2 separate regions of the Homo sapiens genome follow, and region 1 is linked to region 2. The links are contacts of gene promoters, found by promoter capture Hi-C in blood cells and fetal thymus (Javierre and others, 2016). All regions are on one chromosome and are shown on one strand. Each heading gives the region's core, a stretch centred on a gene start or on the middle of the fragment in contact. The rest is flanking DNA. Distances are from core to core; before and after follow the strand shown.

Region 1 (5,885 bases), core at 2,570-5,069, 3.2 Mb before region 2:
TTTTTTAAATACATTTTAATAAATCAGTAAACAAGAAAAGTCATACAATACTAGATAAATGGACAAAGAACATGTGACAATTCACAGGAAAAAATTCTAAGATGTACTAATCAACTAATTTACAATTAAAAAAATATAAAGTAGGCTCAAGTGAGCCATTTTTCACCTATCAAACCAGACATTATTAAATATCCAATCTTGGCCTGAGTTTGGGAAAATTAGCACCAAATATATTTGCAATGGAATGTTTCTTTACTGAAACACTGTTCAAAATAGTAAAACACAGAAACAATACAAATGTCCATCAATGGAGACTTAGTTTTAAAAGCTGATTTAAAATTTAAAAAAACAAGTTAAAGACATAACAGATAAAACGCACATGATTTAAGGTAGGAAGAGATTTAAGATACGCTAAATGAAATACCAAGTCATAGAATGGTAAGCATAGTAAGATCTCTTTTTTGTTTAAAAAAAAAAATTATATCATACATATAAAAACAAAGGTATGAAGATATACACATCATATATATGACCATGTTTGTGTATATACAGATAGAAAGCTCTGTATATGGATTTTATATAGAGAGAGAAAAGGTCCAAAAACAATACTTCCCAATCTATTAATAATTTTTTCTTTAGGAATGAAATTAAAGGAAACTTTTACTTTTTACTTCTCACATTCCCTATTTTAAATTTTGGGTACATATTACTTTCACAATTAAAAAACAGAATTTTAAAAAATCATTACATAAAAAGCACAATGCTGGCTCTACAACAATCAAAAAAGATTTCAGAACCATTTACATTTGTATTGTTTAAACATTCTTGCTGTTGGTATAATATAAATACAAAAGATGTCTTCACACTTTAAGCTTTATTTTTCTCGAAAACATAAATAATAACAAAAAACACTACCACCACAAACCAGATTCCAATATATGGTGAAACAATCTAAAGGGTTTATAAGAAGTCAGGAATTATACATATTTTACATACTAAAATATTTCCATACCTCTTTAATTTGCCGAAGCAATGCACTTTTGCTAGCAATTTCTTCTTTCTCTTGTTCTGATGATAACCTTAAGTATTCTCTGGATCTATGTGGTTTAAGGTTCATCTTTGTATACAGTCTTTCTTGAAGACTATCAAATAATACATTCAAAGTTCGAGGCAGAATGCCAATATTTTCTTCTGTCCCTGCAAAAGGAATTTTTGTGTTATACTCTCTCAGTCTACTAGGAAAGAGGAAACTTTACTTGTTTATTAAAGCTCCTTTTATACTACCAATAGGCAAGAGTCAACAACTGAAACGGAAATGATAGCTAAGGATTACTCAGTTTTCCATCACTTTGTTATTCACAGTATTACCAACATTTTATTGACTATTATTCTGATGTAAACATGAAACTTTACATTCAGATAATGCAACCATATTAAGATTTGTAACCACCCATAATCACAAACTATAAAAGTAAAATGAAATATAAAATTTCTTCTGGTCATTTATGCTTAATTCTCTGTATCACATCAATACTTTTTCTGGATTTTAATCATCATCTAAATCTCTATCAATGGGTAAAGTATTTTTACAAATGAATTAAATAAATTTGAATTAAAAGCCAATAGCAAGGCCAGGCATGGTGGCTCTTGCCTGTAATCCAAGCACTTTGGAAGGCCAAGGTGGGCATATCACCTGAGGTCAGGAGTTCGAGACTAGCCTGGCCAAAATGGTGAACCCCCATTTCTACAAAAATATAAAAACTAGCTTGGCATGGTGGCGCACGCCTGTAGTCCCAGCTACTTGGGAAGCTGAGCAGCTCAGGCAGGAGAGTCATCTGAACCCAGGAGGCAGAGGTTGTAGTGAGCTGAGATCACACCACTGCACTCCAGCCTGGGCAACAGAGTGAGACTCTGTCCCTCCCCCGCCAAAAAAAAAAAAAAACAGCAATACGTAATAATATGCTAGTACTATTAAAAATAGAGCAAACGCATACTAGGTAATAGCAACATAACTACATGTATGTATTATAAAAACACTGAGTGATTATTATTGCTTCCTTATCCTTTCCAACCAAAATAAAACAATATTTACCTTGAAATGTATATGTTTTTCCTGAATTGGTTAGCCCGTAAGTAAAAATCAGACGACTCTGTCCTTTCAAGAGGTCTTTTACTGGTTGCATAATGCAACCCTGAAAGAATTCCTTCTGTGTAGTTGCTGGGCCAAAAACCTAAGCAAACATTTTTTAAAAACTCTTTTTAGAAAATTCAAGTTAATATTAATAGTGTGTTCCATCCCAACACTACTGTTTAAAAATTTAAAAGATTCATTCTTAAAATAGGTGCCACATCCCCACTCCCACAAATACATTTGATAGTTTTACTACCAGAAAGTTTTCAAGATAGAAATCTGTACCAGGGAATCAAGTATTCACCTAAGTTTTGAAAAGAATATTTCTTAAAAATATATTAATAATAACTTTAATAAAAATATAGTAATAATAACTTTAATAACACTACAGTGATCTCTTTACATCCAATTATATATTTCCAGACCTGAGATTTGAGTCTTATCCTTAAAATCTAAGTTGCATAAGCATAAAATGTATAGTTCATTATATACAATTATATAGCAATTTAGCCTAAGCCAAGTCTCTTTATCTTTAAAACAAAAAACAAAAACACTTCAGTTTTACCTTGGAAAAACTGAATTTCTGTGCCATCTGCCCTGAGCTTTTTTCACTTAACCGACCAAGGATGCATTGAGGCTCTTTCAGCACAACAGTCTGTGAATCCAGAATATGCACACAGCCCTAGAAAACATACCCCCAATAAATAAAAACTAGTATTTTGCCATTTTAAATGAAAGTAAAATATTAAAATTCTATTAAATTCAACACAAACCTCAGACTCAAGTTCTTTTTCTGACTGTGTAAATGGTCTTATTCGAAGACAAACCTGGAGATAATCTTTAGATTCGAAACTGTTTGCCTTAAAAAATAAAGGAGAAAAACATTGTGTTTTTGAAAGATACGGCTTTTCAGAGACCATTTTTCCTTAACATGGCTACTTTTTACATAATAATCTGAGATGATAAAGAATTTCTAAGCAGTCACTATCCTGCTTTTAATAATGTTAGAAAAACTCAATAAATCTATTTAAATAAAAACAAAATACACCAAAAAAGATCCAATTTCCTCCATCTCCTGTATTTATACGTGAAGTTTATAAAAAGGCTTTATTCCACAAAAGCCTAATATAATTAATGAGGCCCTAAGTCATTGGAAAATATAACTCTAGAATAAATCAAAAGTAACTAGAATATTCTATTATTCAAATGCTCAATTCCATGAGGTATTCAGAATTTTTTTACTATGTACCATTCTCCTTGTTACTTTTTCTGAGGAAGAAATGTGCATAGAAAATGTAATTTTAAAGAAATGTTTTAATGTTTTTTTAAAAAAGTAAAAAGGAAACAACTTGATAAATGCAACTTAATCAAAACAGACATAACTAGAAAATCTGAATAACCCAATTTCTATGAAGCAAACTGAATCCATTTTCAAACAAAATAATGCCACAAAAAAAAAAATTCAGGCCCTAGTAGTTTAACAGTAAATTCTATCAAACATTTAAGAAAATGATCAGGCCAGGAGCGGTGGCTCATGCCTGTAATCCCAACACTTTGGGAGGCCGAGGCGGGTGGATCACCTGAGGTCGGGAGTTCGAGACCAGCCTGACCAACATGGAGAAACCCCATCTCAACTAAAAATACAAAATTAGCCAGGCATGGTGGTGCATGCCTGTAATCCCAGCTACTTGGGAGGCTAAGGCAGGAGAATCGCTTGAACCTGGGAGGCAGAGATTGCGGTGAGCCAAGATGGCGCCATTGCACTCCAGCCTGGGCAACAAGAGCAGAACTCCGTCTCAAAAAAAAAAAAAATACAAATTGTACATAAACTCTTTAAGAAAATATAGGAAGAGAAAATACCTTAACTAATTTTGAGTTTGACATAAGCCGAATAACACAATTGACAAAGATATCCTCAGGAAAAAATTAGAAAACAAAATACCACATTAAGATATACGCAAAATTTCCCACACAAAATACTAGCCAATATATAAAACAGGATAATACATCTGACCAAGAATGGTTTATTCTAGGAATATAAAGTCTGTTTAGCATTCAAAAATCAATCCAGGCAATTAACCATATTAAAAGAATAAATGAAGAGAAACTTTTATCTCTACAGATGGGAAAACAGCATTTGACAAAATCCAACGTCCATCTGTAATAAAAATTCTCAGCAAAGTGTAATGAATGCAAACTTCCTCATCCTGATAAAGGGCACTTACAAAAAATCTATCGCTAACAACAAACTTAACAGGAAAGACTCAATCTAAGATGAGCAGCAAAATGAGTAATAAGAAGAGGATTTCTGCTTCCCCACTTCTAGTAACATTGTATTAAAGGTTCTAGCTGGTGTAATTGGGTGTGAAGGGGGAAAGGGGATGGGGGAAGAAAAAAGGAGGGGTAAGGGAAAGAAAAAGGGAAGAGAAAAGGAAAGGAAAAAGAAAGGTAAAAGGGAAGGGAAGAAGGGAAAGAAAGAAGTGGAGGGGAGAGGAGGGGAAAGAAAAGGAAAAAAAAAATGGAAAGAAAAAAAGGAAATGAAAAGACAAAAGTCATCCAAATTGGGAAGGAAGAAATAAAATTTTCTTTATTTAGAAACAACATGAACATACGCATACAAAATCCAACAAATCTACAAAAAATTAATGTATACTAACAAAATGCTAATCAGAGGTTACTTGGAGGTGTGATGGGAGGGAGCACTTACAAGGAGCCTCAAGGAAACTTTTGAGGGTAATGGTTATACTCACTATCTTGACTGTAGTGACAGTTACATAAGTGTATGCACATGTCAAAACTTATCAAACTGCGTATCTAAAATATATGCAGTGTTTCATTATGCCTAAATAAAGCAACTAAAAATATTTACAATAGCATCAAATAACATAAAATGTTTATAAATATATTTGACAAAAGACACGAAAGGCCTCTACATTGACAAGTATAAAATACTGCTAAGACATTAAAGACCTAAATAAAATGAAGAATACTGTGTTCATGGATTAAGACTCAATATTGTCAAGATGTCAATTCTCTCCAAACTGATCCACAGATTTAATGCAATCCCAGTCAAAATCCCAAGATGCTGTCTTGTAGAAACTGGCAAGCTGATTCTAAAATTTATGAATATGCAAAGGACCTAGAAAAGCCAAAATTTTCCTAGAAAAGCAAAACTGGAGAATTCACACTACCTAATTTCAAGAATCATTATAAAGCTACAGAAATAGAGAGTATTGTGTTGGAATAAGGACAAATAGGTCAAAGGAAGAGAATAAAATCCAGAAATAGATCCACATATACACAGCCGTTTGTAAAGCACCAAAACAACAGGGAAAGGAAAGTCTTTTCAATAGATAATGCTGAAATAACTACTTATGTAGTTAAAAAAAAAAAAATGTATGGAAGCTAAAAAGAAAAAGAAAAAAGTTAACCTGGGTCCCTATATCAACTGCACACAAAAACTGTTCAAAATGGACCACAGATATAACTACTCAAATGAAAACTAAAATTTCTAGAAAAAGTAAGACAAAAACTTTGGGGAAGGCGAAAGTTTCTTAAAGAGAACACACACACAAAAAAATTCACCAAAGAAGAAAAGAAAATGTTAAATTGAATGTCTTTAAATTTTAAAATGTCTGATCATCAAGACACTATTAATCTGATAAAGGATTTGTATACATAAAGATTTCTCACAAAACACTAATGAAACAACCTAATTTAAATGGGAAAAAGATCTGAAGAGACACTTTACAAA
Region 2 (6,115 bases), core at 757-3,256:
GGAATTATGCGTTCCTTACAGGCTTCCAGGTGATGCTACACTGCTGATTGGGGATCATTCTTTGAGTGGCAAGAATTTGACACTACTAAGTTTCATTACTTAACACAACCATCACATAAAAGCCCTCAAAAGGCACCAGTCTAAACAATAAGCCCTTCCACTTCAGCCTCATGCAGGCACTGACCCTGCCAAGTGTCCAGCACTAGAGAGGCCAGGCATAATAGACATATCCTTTGGTCTTGGGAGGATCACGACACCCTCCTACAGGAAGATCTTGCAATTGTTTCCTCACCTCTTCTGGTTTTTTGATCTTACCTTTTGCCTCTGATGATAATTACCCTTTAATTACCACCCACCACCTTGTCATCTAAATAATTATAGTAAGTGCAGCCTGCACCTCTGCCAGAAGATCTTTAAACAAAATGATAAAAACAAGTTCCTAAACTGCCAATTAAAAAAAGAGACAAAACTGACCCAAATAAAACAGTCATGTGCATCCCACCCACAGTGGAAGACATGGACTTGTTTTTCATATAAACTACAGAAGAAGTTGATTTATTTTGAAACAAGAAAAAGTACTGATTCAGTATTTAGGAAATTGTAAATGTCAGAATATAAATTCTGCAGTCAGGTAGGCAAAACAATCCAACCACACTAAAATCCACCTTAAATTCCTCTTGGGAAGAGCTGCAGGGTCTCTGAACTATTTTTCCTTTATTTGGAGTTTCCCCGATTATACCGGAGGGAGCTGGATAACTTCTGGGTGCATTAAAAGCAAATTATCCATTTGTGGGAGAAGGGCGGGCTTCTCACTGAAAGCAATTAGTAGTTTTCTAATTTCCCAGGTGGGTCTCCATTAACCGCCTAACAAACACCAAGGCTGTCGGAGTCCGACGAATCATGCACCTCTCTTAGGGGGAACTGGTTGCGCTACTCTTTAGAACGCTGTTTTCCCATGGTAGCCTTAAAAAAAACTTACCAATTTTCTGAATTAGGTAACACATTGAATGGGAAAAACCTAAGATAGCACAAAAAGGCGTACAGCGAAAAATTAAGACTCCTTCCTCCCGTCATCCGCCACCTCACTGTCCTCCCTAGAGGCAATCGCTGGTTCACTTCTTTAAACTTTTTATTATGGAAAATTTCAGATACACAAGTAAAGAGACTGTATGATGAGCACATATGCTCGCATCACGCAGCTTCAACGATGAAAAACGTTCTGCCAGCTTGTTTTATTCCTCTCCCCCAGTTTTCATAGGCGTATTTTACAGTCCTGACACCAGATCACTCTGTCAACACATCAGTAGGTCTTAAAAAAAAAAAAACAAAAAACCATAACCACATTACCGTTACCACACCCAACAAAGTTAATGATAATTGCTCAATACCATCCAATATTCTCGGGGCCACTTTCAATCGGTGAGGGGCAGACGGACTTAGAGGAAGGACTGCAGGGCTGGAGGGGCGCGAAAAAGCGAGGGGCGACGCTGCTCGTGGCCTCGGGTGTCCGGCGCCTCGCGGTCCCCGCCATCGTCACCTACGCCGGGCCAGGACCGACCAGGCCAGGTCGAGGGCGGCTCTTGACCACGCGCCCCCTGCCTCCCAGCTCCCGGGCGGCGGCCTCCGCAGGCCCGGCACAGCTGCACAGCCCGCGGTCCCCAGGCACCGGCGGGTCCCTGGAGGGGAAGCGATTGATACAGCTGCCTGCACTGCGCCACCCGCCCGGCTGCCCATCTCCGTGGCACCTGCGTCTCCCGGCTGGGCCGGGAGCTAGAAGTGGCTGCCGAGACCGGGAGGGCCCGGCCAGTCGCCCGCTCCCGCTCCCGCGCCTGGTCCTCGGCCCGCGACCTCGCGGACCTGGACTACAACTCCCGTCGGGCTCCGCGGCCGGGCCAATGGCGGGCGCCGGAGCATGCGGGGCGCAGCGCCTGCGCGGCGGTTTGAGTAAGCGGCTGCGCGATTGGCTGCGGGGTCGGGCGGCCGCGCGGGGACTGTGGGAAGCGGAGTGACGGAGCGAGCGGCTGTTGGAGGAAGGAGGTGGGGGCCGGGAGCGCAAATGGCGTTGAGATGGTTCAGGGCCCTGTTCAAACTCCAGCACTGACCATTCACCGGCGGAAGCGGCGGCGCAGGAGGCGGCGGCGGCCCAGCGGGGGCACACAGCAGGCTCTGTTACCAGCTCCAGCAGTGGCGGCCAGCGAGAGCTAGGCCTGGGCCCGGCCGGCGGCGCTCGAGGCGGGGAGGGAAGTTGCGGGGCCGCCGCTCCTGCCCCCCCAACCGGGCTTCCTATTTACCGAAAGCAGAGTCCCTCGCCTCTCTCGGCTCTCACCTGCCGGCCCTGCTCTCCCGCGCGAGGGTTCCGCGCCCGCCCGCGGGCCGTAGGGAGCGGGAGAGGCGGAGGCGGCCCGTGGCCAAAGCACCCGCCAGGCTCCGAGGGTAAGTGAGGTGTCGGGCGGCCGCCTAGGCCGGGAGGGAGCCGGGAGGGTGGGGGAGGCAGAGGCTGGGAGCGGGCGGTGGAAGTCTCACTGCCTCGCCCACCGGGCCGCTGAGGAAGTTGGGCAGGGGAATGACCTGAGGAACTCTTTTTTTCCCCTTTTATTTTCCTTTTTCGGAGTTCTTTTTCGGGCGACTGCTGATTGACTTAGCTCCCCAAACCCAGTCAAGTGTGTTGATTTCAGCCCCGAGTCCTTTCCCGTGGTTTCATCCGCCTCTGGCCGCCACTGGGGCCTTGCACTGCCTTAAGGATTCGGTGGCAGAGGCTTCCGGGGCGTCGAAAGTGACCTCCCTTTCCTGGGCGGCGCGGGTTGGGAGGAGAAAAGTTGCATTGAGTGTCTAGTCCGAGGGGTCCATCGCGCCCACTGCCCGTGGCGCCCCGGCTGTCCCCAGGTGAGGATTTCTGGTTAGTCAGGTTCGTCCCGTCCGCTTTCCATCTTTAATGGAAGCCCTTAAAGCCTTTGGGGATCGGGAAGACGCTAGATTAGGGTGGGAGTGAAGTATAAAGGCTTTTTGCTTTTTTTTTTTTTTTTTTTTTTTTAAATCACAGCGCACTTCTCTCAAAATTCGACCTGATTTTGGGCTAGGGCAAAAGCCGAACGACCGAAAAGACTTAGTCGTCAATCATTCTTTCCTTTTTAGTTAGGACAGTCTTTGGAGTTTAAAGGTTGAGCAAGATTGTGTACTTGAAACACTTAAAATTTAACTTCAAGGACGTCTGCACACTTATTTTGGAATCTGTAGTGCTTTACGCTTAGATAATGCCATTGCAAAGACATTTTATTGTGGGAAACGATAAAGGCAATCAGGAGGAGATATTATATAATGAACTTCTCTGTACCCATCGCTTGGATTTAGCAGTGACTATTAAACAAATTTATTTCATCTATACACTTCTCATTCCTTAATGTTGGAAAATCGCTGACGTTATTTCATCAGTATTTCACTATGTATTTGTAAAAGACGTGGTCTTTTGGCACAAAATTATTATTATCATTATTATTATTATTTTGAGACGGAGTTTCGCCCTTGTTGCCCAGGCTGGAGTGCAGTGGCGCGATCTCAGCTCACCGCAACCTCCGCCTCCCAGGTTCAATTGATTCTCCTGCCCCAGCCTCCGGAGTAGCTGGGATTACAGGCATGCGCCACCACGCCCGGCTAATTTTCTATTTTTAGTAGAAACGTGGTTTCTCCATGTTGGTCAGGCTGGTCTCGAACTCCTGGCCTCAGGTGATCTGCCCGTCTTGGCTTCCCAGAGTGCTGGAATTACAGGCGTGACCTGCCGCCCCCAGCCAGCACAAAATTATTTTTTATCACATAAAATAATTAAGTCCTTAGTGTCAGGTATTCATCTGAAGACTTCAAACTTTCAACAGTGAATGCTTTGTGGTTATAGAACCATTTTAACAGTTTTTCTGATGTTGGCATAAAGGAACTCAAGTCTAGATTTTTGGTTTGGCCTTTGGTTAGTATTTTTAGATGATTAGCACATAAGTGAATCCAAAACATTCCATCTTTGTTGGTGTGTATGTGTACGTACACTTACAGACCTGCAGGATCTCAGCTTTACATTCTTGAAGGAACAGAGAATCGATTTTTATTTTGTTGTCCGTGGTAGTTGCCCAGTATCCTGTTTTGTTTAGGCTGTACTTAACAAGAAAGACAGTAAGACTTGTTAGTGTTAGAGCTGCAGTGGAAGATGAAATACATCTCCTTCAGGAACACTGTTTTCTCTTAACGCAGATATGTATGATGACTAAATTATTACCTTGTCAAATTAAAATTGGGTTCTCACCAAACATGGGGGGGGGTCTACTACTGAATTTATATAAAACTCAGACAGTGACTCATTATAAATGGTAAGAATTTAAGTTAATCAAGGGAAAACAAGTGTAGATCAAAACATATTCAAAAGTATAGGTCAAATATAATTTCAATTCTTGTAGCTTTCAAAGTAATGATTTTTCATTCCTTAGGCCCTTGTTCACTTTTTAAAGTTATATTCGATGTATTCATGTTTGAACTGTAGAAAGGTCAAAGTGTTAGACAAACGGTTACTGATTGATCATGTTTAAAAAGTACTATAACTTTTTAATAGGCACAGAACTAATGCAAGTAACTTGTTTTAAAAAATGTTTGACTCTTGATTTACTGCCCTAAAGATTTTTTTTTTTGTCCTGTGAAGTAGATAAATCAGGTGAATCGATTTGCCATTTATAAATTGAAAAGGAAAATAAAAGTTGTATGTTTCTATGTCTGTATTAATCCATGAAACAGTGTAATATGCTGGAGCTCACTAGCCCCAGAAAATATAACTCAGCAAATGAGCACAGCACTATCGGGACAAGGCAGATAGGATAAGGATAGTTTCTTTCCCTAGGGAGATGACCATCTAAGGAACATTTTTAAAGTCACAGCGCAAATTACATTACACCAAGAAGCAGAATCTTCAAGATTGGGTTAAAAGCTGCAGGTTGTAAAACATGAGAAAAAGCACCATTTTGGGGACCTTTTTTCTCATGTGAATTAGTGCCATGAAATTTCAAAGAACTAAATTTAATCAAGTATTGGATATTTCTGAGGCCCTGAAAAAAACTAACATTCTGTGCTTAAGATTTTATATAAGTAATTACCCTATACAGGTTATCATTATATCACTGCAACCTCCATCTCCTGAGTTCAAGCGGTTCTTCTGCTCCAGCTTCTCAAGTAGCTGGGATTACAGGTGCGTGCCACCACTCCCAGCTAATTTTTGTATTTTTAGTAGAGATGGGGTTTCACCGTGTTGGGCAGGCTGGTCTCAAACTCCTGGCCTCAAGTGAGCTGCCTGCCTCGGCCTCCCAGCCTCTATACAGATAATTTTTTAAGGTAAAAATGATGTTTATAAGAATAGTAAATTAATTCATTTGGAACTTAATATGCTTCATTTTAAGTTAGCTTTATGGATATCGTATTATAAGTTGGTTAATCATTAAGTTTTTTTACTTTGTAAGTAGCGTAGGAATATGTACTCATTGTGGAGGAAAATTGACATGGAAGCATGTAGGGTAATAAATCAGCCTTTCTTTATACCCCTTCCTCATATTTGTTTATTTAAAAGTCTGTGTGGTGAGTGTCAAAAGTCATGAGGGAAGAATCCCTAGGTTTTTATTTTTATATGCACTGTTTAACACTTGTATTTGATGATTATATGTTTTCTTAAATTTTTTTTCACAGAGAATATGAAACTGGTGTCAAAATGACATCCAGATTTGGGAAAACATACAGTAGGAAAGGTGGAAATGGCAGTTCAAAATTCGATGAAGTCTTTTCCAACAAACGGACTACCCTTAGCACAAAATGGGGAGAGACCACATTTATGGCTAAATTAGGGCAGAAGAGGCCCAATTTCAAACCAGATATCCAAGAAATTCCGAAGAAACCTAAAGTGGAAGAAGAAAGTACTGGAGATCCTTTTGGATTTGATAGTGATGATGAGTCTCTACCAGTTTCTTCAAAGAATTTAGCCCAGGTTAAGTGTTCCTCTTATTCAGAATCTAGTGAAGCTGCTCAGTTGGAAGAGGTCACTTCAGTACTTGAAGCTAATAGCAAAATTAGTCATGTGGTCGTTGAAGACACTGTCGTT

What was found. The method cuts DNA at HindIII sites, captures the fragments that hold promoters and counts their contacts. A CHiCAGO score of 5 or more calls a contact.
Region 1: a fragment that was not itself captured here is called in contact with the fragment with the promoter of WAPL in region 2 in 1 of 17 cell types (naive CD8 T cells); the score reaches 5.1 in naive CD8 T cells.

What each region holds. Positions count from the first base shown.
Region 1 is chr10:89,706,273-89,712,157 of GRCh38, reverse strand. KIF20B (kinesin family member 20B) reads right to left here. Exons shown (of 33, transcript NM_001284259.2): 3 at 2,905-2,991; 4 at 2,697-2,813; 5 at 2,093-2,231; 6 at 1,013-1,197. Among named protein-coding and RNA genes, the nearest start is that of KIF20B, 7.6 kb to the right of the region's middle. The HindIII fragment of the contact is 5,889 bases long and covers 875-5,885 here.
Region 2 is chr10:86,517,683-86,523,797 of GRCh38, reverse strand. It overlaps WAPL (WAPL cohesin release factor), which reads left to right and starts at 2,006. Exons shown (of 19, transcript NM_015045.5): 1 at 2,006-2,433; 2 at 5,707-6,115. The coding sequence starts at 5,729. It overlaps WAPL-DT (WAPL divergent transcript), which reads right to left and starts at 1,851. Exons shown (of 2, transcript NR_186498.1): 1 at 1,389-1,851; 2 at 1-1,289. RefSeq lists silencers at 1,393-1,952, 2,093-2,512. The HindIII fragment of the contact is 16,574 bases long and covers 1-6,115 here.